Regions from separate parts of the Homo sapiens genome. Here all the other regions are linked to region 1. Evidence: promoter capture Hi-C in 16 types of primary human blood cells and fetal thymus (Javierre and others, 2016). All regions are on one chromosome and are shown on one strand. Each heading gives the region's core, a stretch centred on a gene start or on the middle of the fragment in contact. The rest is flanking DNA. Distances are from core to core; before and after follow the strand shown. Region 1 holds the start of FAM210B (family with sequence similarity 210 member B). Region 2 has its middle 7.5 kb from the start of FAM209B. Region 3 overlaps RTF2 (replication termination factor 2). Region 4 overlaps RTF2 (replication termination factor 2).

Evidence for each region. Contacts are between HindIII fragments. The CHiCAGO score rates a contact against its expected background, and 5 or more counts as called.
Region 2: a contact is called between a fragment that was not itself captured here and the fragment with the promoter of FAM210B in region 1, in 1 of 17 cell types (neutrophils). The highest score is 6.1, in neutrophils.
Region 3: a fragment that was not itself captured here is called in contact with the fragment with the promoter of FAM210B in region 1 in 7 of 17 cell types (neutrophils, naive CD8 T cells, non-activated CD4 T cells and 4 more); the score reaches 8.6 in neutrophils.
Region 4: a fragment that was not itself captured here is called in contact with the fragment with the promoter of FAM210B in region 1 in 9 of 17 cell types (monocytes, neutrophils, activated CD4 T cells and 6 more); the score reaches 8.6 in monocytes.

The regions. Positions count from the first base shown.
Region 1 is chr20:56,357,635-56,360,265 of GRCh38, forward strand. It overlaps FAM210B (family with sequence similarity 210 member B), which reads left to right and starts at 1,340. Exons shown (of 3, transcript NM_080821.3): 1 at 1,340-1,557. The coding sequence starts at 1,372. RefSeq lists a silencer at 1,017-1,616. The HindIII fragment of the contact is 7,749 bases long and covers 1-2,631 here.
Region 2 is chr20:56,539,390-56,542,020 of GRCh38, forward strand. No RefSeq gene overlaps it. Among named protein-coding and RNA genes, the nearest start is that of FAM209B, 7.5 kb to the left of the region's middle. The HindIII fragment of the contact is 4,088 bases long and covers 1-2,631 here.
Region 3 is chr20:56,518,433-56,521,063 of GRCh38, forward strand. It overlaps RTF2 (replication termination factor 2), which reads left to right. Exons shown (of 9, transcript NM_016407.5): 9 at 1-1,017. It also overlaps the pseudogene GCNT7. Among named protein-coding and RNA genes, the nearest start is that of FAM209A, 5.0 kb to the right of the region's middle. The HindIII fragment of the contact is 2,134 bases long and covers 280-2,413 here.
Region 4 is chr20:56,498,985-56,501,615 of GRCh38, forward strand. All of the region lies in intron 5 of RTF2 (replication termination factor 2), which reads left to right. It also overlaps the pseudogene GCNT7. Among named protein-coding and RNA genes, the nearest start is that of FAM209A, 24 kb to the right of the region's middle. RefSeq lists a silencer at 1,736-1,936. The HindIII fragment of the contact is 1,363 bases long and covers 620-1,982 here.

The sequences.
Region 1 (2,631 bases), core at 90-2,589:
CTGGAGTGCAGTAGCACCATCGTGGCTCCCTGAAACCTGGACCTCCTGAGCTCAAGCAATTCTGCGTCAGCCTCCCGAGTAGTTGGGACTACAGGTGCATGCCACCACACCAGGCTAATTTATTTTTATTTTTGTAGTGACAGGGTTTCGCTATGTTGCTCAGGCTGGTCTTGAACTCCTGAGCTCAAGTAATCCTCCCACCTCAGCCTCCCAACGTGCTTGGATTATAGGCATGAGCCATTCCACCCAGCCAGAACATCTTTATTGAAGTATAATTTACACAGCATAAAATTCATCCATGTTAAGTGTACAGTCCCACGAGTTTTAGTTACACAGCTGTCACCATCCCTACAATCTGGGTTTAGGATCCTTCCCTCACCCCAAGACGTTCCTCCCACTCCTTGGCAGTCAATCTCATTTCCCACTCCCAGCCCTAGGCCACCACGGATCTGTTTTAGGTCTCTGTGATTTTGCCTATTCTGGGCACTTCATGTAGCTGGAATCCTCCAGTGTGTGACTTTTGTGCCTAGATTTTTTCAATTGGCATAAGAGCTTTGAGATTCATTTATGTTGTGCATGTATCAGTAGTCTGTTCCCTTTAATTGTTGCATTGCGTCCCATTGAAGACTTGTGCCACAGTACGTCCCAGTTTATGGGCATTCCTAATTGTTGACTAATATTTATAAGATCTCTACAAACATTGGTGTCTTCACATTTTAGTCTTTGAGTGTCGAGCCTTTGTTTCTCTTGAGAAGCTACCGAGGAGTGGAGTTGCTGGGTTGTATGGTTAGTGTATGTCTAACTTTTCAAGAAACTGCCACACCATCTTTCGCTTTACATTCACGCCAACAATCTATGAGGGTCAGAGGACTTTTTATTAAACATGTACTAATATCAATTCTCATATTTATTTTCTTCTTTGGAGCTAACACGTAAACATATCTATAATTTTTTTTCAGATTTCACCCATTTCTGCAGGGAGAAAAGCTCATAAGCCACGGCCCTACGCCCACCTTTGTGCCCGCAGAATAAGGAAACCCGCCAACTACACACCACAGTTAGAAAGCCCAAGACCCTGAAAAGACCTGCACCCACCCCCAAAGGGGCGGGGCTGGTGGGCGGAGAGGAGGCGGGGCGCGCTCCTTCAGCCCCGCCCACCAGCCCTGGACTCCGGCTCCCGAGGAGCGGAGCTAGCGGGTGAGCCAAGGGGATGTGCACAGGCCTCCTCAGTCCCGCCCAGCGCGCGCGCGCGGCGGCGAAGCCGGCGGGCGGGGCCGGGGAGGGCCCTCGCCGGGTCAGCTCCGCCCACCCTCCCCGGCCTCCGCCCGCCTCCCGGGTCAGCGGCGCGGGTGCTGCGCCTAGCTGCGCACCATGGCCGGGTTGCTGGCGTTGCTGGGTCCGGCAGGCAGGGTGGGCGCCCGGGTCCGGCCTCGCGCCACCTGGCTCCTGGGCGCCACCGCCCCCTGCGCCCCGCCGCCCCTGGCCCTGGCCCTGCTCCCGCCCAGGCTAGACGCCCGGCTGCTCCGCACGGCGCGCGGGGACTGCCGCGGCCACCAGGTAAGCACCCCACCCCGACCCTGATCCCGGGCGGTGTCCAGGTCCCCAGACGTCCGCAGGGCCGCGCCGGGGTCCGGCCGCCTCCGCCAAGGACGCCTTTGCACTTGTAGCTGCCCGGGACCGAGCTCTTCCAGGGTCCCCGAAACCCCAAATCCCTGCAAGCCAAGGAAGCGATCCTCCTAGTTGACAGCCAGAGAAACTGAGGCTCGGGAAGGTGTGGCGCTCTGCCCAAGGTCGCGCAGTCTTCGGCCGAGCCCCGGGTCTGCAGAGCCTCAGCCAGGCTGGGGCGCAGCCGACTGACTTGGTCTGAACTTCCACACGTTGCCTGCGGAGTTGTTGTCCAGGCCTTCTGGCTGGGTCTCGCTGTGTTTTGAACACCTCCCGACGCTCGCTGCTCCTCCCTTTTCTTCTGAGTGGAAGAGCAGGCGTCCTCAGGGAAGCCGCGGGCAAGAAACCCACAGTGCTGTTTGTTATGTTTCATTTCCGTCACTTTCCATTGGTGCTAAGTGAAAACTGGTTTTCCTTCAGAGCAGTCATACCAGCTTTCCTTTCAAGAAATCTATCACTTTCTTCCAAGTGAGTCTTTTTAAATAAAAATAGTAGTAAATGAAGTCTGGCGGTCCAGGAATGGCAAGCCCAGACACGCGGAGCCGGCGTCCAGCCCGGAGCGCATCCGGCCTGGCAGTCTGGAGCCTCTTTGTTTGCCTGGGTGCAGACAGGGCCCCTCCATTCATCGCCCGGTGACCTCAGACCGAGTCCTGAAGGCTTTTGAGCTTGTTTTCTGACCTTTAGAGGGCCAAAAATAGCACCTTCCCAGCAAGAGTTTGGGAGACAACTCCATGAGCTGGTGCAGGCCTCAGCGGAGTGCCGCCGGCCCAGCGAACATCTCCTGACCGTTTCCTAGCTTTTCAGTAAGGAGCGGATGGGGATTGGACCCAGGCTTTCATCATGCCTCCTGCCCAGATCAACTTCCTTCCTTGCCTTCTCCAGTCCGACAGGTGGCACACAGGTCTTGGGGATCCTCTCCAGAGTGGCACCTTCTGCACACACCGTGCCGCCTCCTGATGATTCTTC
Region 2 (2,631 bases), core at 76-2,575, 180 kb after region 1:
AATTGTCAAAACTCCTTAGAGCAAGTGCACCAAGGATGTAAATTAGAACAAAATCTGCTGTACATTTGGATTTAACAATTCCTCAAAAATGGTATCCTCCATGTCTTTGGCCTAGCTTAATACACACTGTGCAGACCACAGTTTTGCCTAGAAAATAGTGTTTTCTCAATCCAGTCAATTTCATGCAGTATTTTCATGCTAAAATGCATTAGATGTATTTTTGGAGCCATATCTTAAAGTTACTCAACTCTACTGTCATAGCATAAACTCAAATTCTGTTACCACACCCTGTGGTTTAAAAAGAGAAATTGAGGCCTGGCGTGGTGTCTCATGCCTGTAATCCCAGCACTTTGGGAGACCAAGGCAGGAGTATCCCTTGAGTCTAGGAGTTCAAGACACTCCTGGGCAACATGGTGATACCCTAACTCTATAAAAAATACGCAGAATAGTCTGGATAATGGAGCCTTTGGAGAAAAAGTCTTAAAAAAGAAAAGAAAAGAAAAAACAAAACAAAAACAAGCAAACAAAAAAAAACTGGTCGAGCATGGGGGTGCATGCCTGCAGTCTCAGCTACTAGGGAGGCTGAGGTGGGAGGATCACTTGAGCCCGGGAAGTCGAGGCTGCAGTGAGCCGTGATACCACCACTGCAGTCCAGGCTGGGTGACAGAGTGAGACCCTGTCTCAAAAAAAAAATAAGACCAGGTGTGGTGGCTCATGCCTGTAATCCCAACACTTTGGGAAGCGGAGGTGGGTGGATCACCTGAGGTCAGGAGTTCAAGACCAGCCTGGCCAACATGATGAAACCCCGTCTCTACTAAAAATCCAAAAATTAGCTGAGCATGGTGGTGTGCATCTGTAGTCCCAGCTACTCGGGAGGCTAAGCCAGGAGAATCGCTTGACCAGGGAGGTGGAGGTTGCAGTGAGCCGAGACGATGTCACTGTCCTCCAACCTGAGCAACAGAGTGAGACTCCATCTCAAAAAAAAATAAAAATTTAAAAATTTAAAAAAGAAAATGAAAAATAAAAAGAGAAGCTGATGCATAAATGATAACTGCTGATCACTGTAGTTGCCTAAATCCTAATAAAGTGTTTATCAGAGCAGGCTGACAGCTCAGACTGTCTGCAGAATGCATTCCCTTGCAGCTGTAGGACTCGTGGCATTTCGCATCTTCAGAGCCAATAAGGAGAGTAAGATTCTAGAGTGAGTCACTCATACAACAGGGGCCTCACAATGTGATGTCATCATGGGAGCCATGGACATCAGCTCTGCCATGCTCTACTGGGTGGAAACAGGTCACTCACGGTTTGAATACCAGGAATGGGACCCAGCTGCAAAGACGCTGCTCCAGCATGAGGTGATGGAGGCGTCGTGCTGCTGCTAACAAAAAATTGAGCATTAGACAGGAGGGGACATGGTCACTGGACAGGGCCTTGTTCATGAACCTCGATGCGGGTGGTGGGCTGAATTCTAAGATGGTCCCGAGAGGCACTCACCTTTTGGTTTTTGGGGGGTTTTTTGTTTGCTTGTTTTTGTTTTTGAGATGGAGTTTTGTCTTGTCACCCAGGCTAGGGTGCAATGGCACAATCTTGGCTCACCGCAACCTCCTCCTCCCGGGTTCAAGCGATTCTCCTGCCTCAGACCCCGGAATAGCTGGGATTACAGGCATGCGCCACCACACCCGGCTAATTTTGTATTTTTAGTAGAGACGGGGTTTCTCCATGTTGGTCAGGCTGGTCTGAAACTCCCGACCTCAGATGATCCGCCTGCCTCGGCCTCCCAAAGTGCTGGGATTACAGGCGTGAGCCACTTGCCCCCGGCTGGCACTCACCTTTTGTAATCTTTCCCTTGAGTGTGGTGGGAGCTGTGAAGACGATGACATTGTCTTACGTAAGACCCCATAGTAGCCACGAGACTTCCCTGGCAGCCTGAAGATGGAGGCTGCGGTATTGTGAGACCACGGGGGTTCCATGGTAGGGACATGAGGGTGGCCGCTAGGACCCGAAAGAAAGCCTAGACAACAGCTGGGAAGAAAGCGTGGCCTCCAGTGCTATAGCTGTAGAAATGCATTCCACCAACAACCAGTGGCTTGGAAGAGGGAGCCTAAGCCTCAGATGATAGAGCAGCCATGACCGACACCTGATTTCTGCCTGGTGGGACCCTAAGCAGAGACCCCGCCAGCCTTACGTGTACTCCTGACCCACAAAAACTGTGTGATAAGTGGGCGTTGTTGTAAGCCACTACACTTATGGCCAAGTTTTTACACAGCAATTGAATACATCATGCATACACACACAAACACACAAAATGTTTCCATCTGCCACTTCTGATACCACAGCTGACACGTCCACCTTGCCCTTTGACCTAGTCACTGGGTCTCTGAACCAGGGAAATGAGACCAAAGAAACAGCAGCCATGGATCAAGAATGAGAACACCCAGTCCCTTGAAAGCAGAGGCTATGAACTATTGGCTCAGACACCAAACCTCCCCTGCCCATACCATGTTTGTTTGGCCCACAGTAATTTTTCTTAACTTTTTCTTTTGAAATAATAGTAGGTTCACAGGAAGTTGCAAAGGTGGCACTGAGAGGTCCCGTGTGCTCTTCACCCAGTTTCCTCCTGTGGTTGCGTCT
Region 3 (2,631 bases), core at 97-2,596, 160 kb after region 1:
TCGGTTCCAGGGGGGACATGGGAGGGGCTGCACAGTGGCCCGAGGTCATGCTTGCTTCCACCTGCAGGTGCATTTGGTCCTTTCCATGGCCAGGAAGCCCTGTGGGCTGCACTTTTTATGCTTGCAGTAACAAGAGACTCCAGAGTCCTCACCGGTGCAGAGTTGGCACATATTAATTAACTAAAATTCTAATGATCTTGCTACCAGCAATAAATCAAGTAGGCCAAGTGAAACTGGGCTTTAAAAAGGATGGATTTCAAATACACTGTGCCCACTAGAAGCTTCGAAGGGCCTCGTCCCTCTGCTACAGCCCTGGGAGGAGCCAGGATCCTTGTTGGTCTAGCTAAATACTGTTAGGGGAGTGTGCCCCATCTCATCATTTCGAAGATAGCAGAGTCATAGTTGGGCACCCAGTGATTGGGTTCAAAAATAAAGCTGGTCTGCCTCTTCTCTCCTCTGTGTTTTTATCTTTTCTACCTTCTGCTCATGCTTGGGTAAGAACATTGCAGCCGTTGCATTGGTGATTACAGGAGTCATTCCATGAAGTCAGAAGAACCCACCCTTCTCTCCTCCAGCAGATGGTAAAGGGAGAATCGTACCCAAAAAGAGGTGCATTTTATCTGCCTATAAGTTGTGTTGACGTCAATAGCTAGTGAAACTTCTCATGAGACTCCTAATGAAGAACCAAGAGCCACAGGCCTCTGCGTGGCTTTCTGCACACGGTGGTATGACTGAGATAGTGACTGGTTCTCTATACAGACCCCGGGGCCCTGGGTTTCCTTCAGAAGCAGAAGGAGCTGTGGGAGGTGAATGGTGGGAGGTGAACAGGCAGGTTCTGTGGGAGACACAGACACGTGGGCAGAACTCCAGGGAGAGGCCAGCAAGGGAGAACCATGTGTGGCCCTGCTTTTTCTCAAACCCTGTGTGGTTCCCGGCTTCACAGTTGATGGGAAGGTTTGGCCCCAAGGATATTTTGACATTGTGAGTATAGAGCATTTTAATAAAAATTAAGTGATGCGTTTTTGTCATGGACTTTTCCAGAACAAACCTGGATTAGCCATTTAATTTCCCCAATTTTCTATACAGCCAAACTCAACCATTTTCTCATTGTTTTTATTTCCCCCTTTTTTTTTTTTTTTTTTTTTAAATTTTGAAACAGGGTCTCACTCTGTCATCCAGGCTGGAGTGCAGTGGCATGATCATGGCTCACCATAGCCTTGACCTCCTGGGCTCAGGTGATCCACCCCCCTCAGCCTCCCGAGTAGCTGGGATTATAGGTGCGCACTACCGCACCCGGCTAATTTTGCTATTTTTTGTAGAGATGAGGTTTCGCCATGTTGCACAGGCTGGTCTTAAACTTCTGGGACCAAGCAATCTGCCCGCCTCGGCCTTCCAAAGTGCTGGGATTACAGGCGTGAGCCACGCTGCCTGGGCCCCCTTTTCTTTTAATGACCATTATTTTTACCAGGTTCGGTTTTCTGAATGTTAGCCTGAATCAGTTTTATTTTGCATTGAATGTATTGACTGTGTCCAGTTTTTTCTGGTAACTGAGTCACAGCATCCTCAACACAAAAATTACAGCATCTCAAAGTCCTCTGCTTTGGGCCTCTCTGAAATAAACAGGCTGTGGGCCTCCCTCCAGCTGCCCTCAGGACCATCCATGCAGGAGGGATCAGGGTTTCCTTGGAGATTTCTAGCCAGCCTTTAATATTTTGCTAAGGCACCACTCTTCAAGGCTCCTGGCCAGCTTGAGGGAAGAAGGTATCCATGATCTGTGCTCCTGCTGGGCATGAGGCCTCAATACACCAACGGCTGGGGAGGGCTGATCATTCGCATTATTTTTAGGGCTCACTGAGCAGCCAAGCACTTGACAGGCTTCTTCCCCTGGGACTCCCCAGCCACCCAGTGCAATGGGAAGATGGCCATCCCCCACTTTATAGGTGAGGTGCCTGAGGCCCAAAGCAGCAAGGCGAATGACAGTTCTGCCTGGCCACACCGCACCTTCTCCCCATTCAGTCCGTACCAAATGAAGGAATCAGTGGCGGCTGGGGCAGGCTCCCACCCAGGCGCCGAGACCACGGGTTCAGGTGCTGTGCCCAAGAGGAAAGTGGGGCATCTCCTAGCTCTCCCTCCTCCTCCGTCCACCTCCAGGACCCAAGCTGCTTTCCACCAAGGAGGGAGCTGGGAGGAGAAAATTGAAAAGATGTTGAAATTCTCCAAAATAGCATCTATTCAATTTCCCACAGTATCGGAGGAACCAGCCCCCAATATTTCAATGTAGGTTCTTTTCTCTTTTCCCTAAGCATCGGCCGGTCTGAGAAAGAGTACAAAAGAGAGAAATTTTACAGCTGGGTCTCTGGGGGTGACATCACGTCAGCAGGTTCTGTGTTGCTCCCGAGCCGCAAAACCAGCAAGCTTTTATTAGCAATTTTCAAAGGGGAGGGAGTGTACGAATAGGTTGTGGGTCACAGAGATCACATGCTTCAAAGGCAATAAAATATCACAAGGCAAATGGGGGCAGAGCGAGATCAAAGTCCAGGGCAAAATTAGAATTGCTGATGAGGTTTCATGTCCCACTGTGCACGCATTGTCATTGATAAACATCTTAACAGGAAACAGGGTTCAAGAACA
Region 4 (2,631 bases), core at 51-2,550, 140 kb after region 1:
TTAACATTGACTGTGGATTTTAAAGATGTTGTATTTATTTTCATCGTACAGTTTATTTCTACCCATCATGCTTCCAAAATAAATAGCAGCCACTGCCGAGGTATGTCAGGCCGCAGTGTGTTCCACTGGTTCAGTAAATGGTTTCTGCCCCAAACATGGAACCTTACAGCCTAATTTAAAGACATTCTTATAAATTATGTAATACTTATCTTTTTTTTTTTTTTTTTTTTGAGACGGAGTCTTGCTCTGTAACTCAGGCTGGAGTGCAATGGTGCGATCTCGGCTCACCACAATCTCCGCCTCCCGGGTTCAAGCGATTCTCCTGCCTCAGCCTCCCAGGTGCATGCCACCATGCCCGGCTAATTTTTGTATTTTTTTAGTAGAGACAGGGTTTCACCATAATGGCCAGGCTGGTCTCAAACTCCTGACCTCGTGATCCACCCGCCTAGGCCTCCCAAAGTGCTGGGATTACAGGCGTGAGCCACCACGCCTGGCAATACTTATGTTTATAAACATGAAACCATCATAATTTATACATTTTATATGAGATTTCTAAATTAAATTAAACCTGACCATAGAAATTGAATAGGAAAGAAAAATGTTCTTGAAATGAAAGTAAAGCTTTTTACTACTTCTCCTATAAGAATTTTGATTAAAGATAAACCAGATACCATAGTTTGTCATATCTTCCCCTGTATTATGACTTTAGTATAGGAAGAAGGGTTTGGGTTTTGTTTTTTTTTTTCTGTTGTCCTTTTATTTTGTTTTTTGAGACAGGGTCTCACTCTGTCACCCAGGCTGGAGTGAAGTGGCGCAGTCTCAGCTCACTGCAACCTCTGCCTCCCCGGTTGAAGCGATTCTCCTGCCTCAGCCTCCTGAGTAGCTGGGATTACAGGCATGTGCCACCACGCTAGCTAATTTCTGTATTTTTAGTAGAGATGGGATTTCACCATGTTGGCCAGGCTGGTCTTGAACTCCTGACCTCATGTGATCCACCCTCCTTGGCCTCTCAAAGTGCTGGGAATTTTTAGGTGTGAACCACTGCGCCCGGCCTATTTGTTTTTTTGGTTTTCTGTTGTTTTTTTTTTAGGAGGAGTTTCGCTCTTGTTGTCAAGGCTGGAGTGCAATGGCGTGATCTTGGCTCACTGCAACCTCCACCTCCTGGGTTCGAGCGATTCTCTGGCCTCAGCCTCCCAAGTAGCTGGGATTACAGGCATGCACCACCACACTCAGCTAATTTTGTATTTTTGGTAGAGATGGGGTTTCACCATGTTGGTCAGCCTGGTCTCGAACTCCTGACCTCAGGTGATCCACCTGCCTCAGCCTCCCAAAGTGTTGGGATTACAGGCGTGAGCCACCTCGCCCAGCTAGTTTGTTGTTTTTAAGATAACTTGTGAAAGCGTTCTGTTCCTCCTGTCACAGAAGTGAGTTAGCCCCTCATCACTGCCAAATGATACCCCATGTAAATTTGGCTGTGCGCCGAGCCCAGGAGATTGGGTATTTTCAGTAGTTTATAATAATTAAATGAAGAGAGGCCCCAAGGGTAGCCATTGTCCTTTGGGAAAATACCCAGGCTAAGAGTTTTTCCCTCCCCTGTATAGAGACAGGGACATGGCCAGTTCAGTGTTAACCTGCTGTGGCCTTCTACCTTGGTTCCATCAGCACCAGCTTTCACTGTGGCCCAGTTAAATCTTCCCTCTGGCTTAGATTCACTGTGAAACTTCAGAATGGATGCCTGCTGGACTGCCCTGCTGAGTGGGAACCAAGGTCCCCAGCAGTTTAGTTTGTCATTGTTTCAACATAAACTTTTTTTTGAGACAAGGCCTCACTCTTATCACTCAGGCTGGAGTGCAGTGGTGTGATCATGGCTCACTGCTGCCTCAACCTCCTGGGATTTGGTGATCCTCCCACTTCAGCCTCCCCAGCAGCTGGGACTACAGGCATCTGGCTGATTTTTTGTAGAGACAAGGTTTTGCCACACAAGCTTTTTTTTTTAAAAAAAATCTTTTAAAAATTGATACATAATAATTATATATGTTTATGGATCACAGAGTAATGTTTCAATACACACAATGTATCAGCACAAGCTTTTTAAGGCAGTCAGGCCCTCTATTGTAAATGTAGCCTTTGGAGATCTCACTGCTGTTGCTGTCACTTGAACATAACATCTAGTGGGTAATATGAAAATTCCTGGAGGAATAAACTTTTCATGGCCTGACTTTTTTTTTTTCCTTTTAAGATAATGGTGAACATTATTTTCAGTTTTGCAAACATTTCCTAGCAATTCTTAGTTTTTGTTGTGGCTGTTTTATTTCTATATTGTGAAGTCAGCTATTTTAATGAAAAAATAATGAAGGTTTAGTTACTAAACATGAGATTTTCTGTCACTAAATTAATTTCCAGTAAATGTAGGTGCTATTTTGTAAGTGCGGGGAATATGCCTCTCATAAAAAAGTGTTCTTACTGAGTTTTTGAACCATTTTTTCCTCCATAGAAAGATGTTTAAGATACTTCTTGTAAAGGCTGTAGAAAGAGTGGCTGTTACCCTGTGTATTATGTATGGAGTAGGTATGCAAGTTCTTTGTCTGGAACAGACCTATTTTTAACATTCCAGTGTCCTATTTTCCTTGT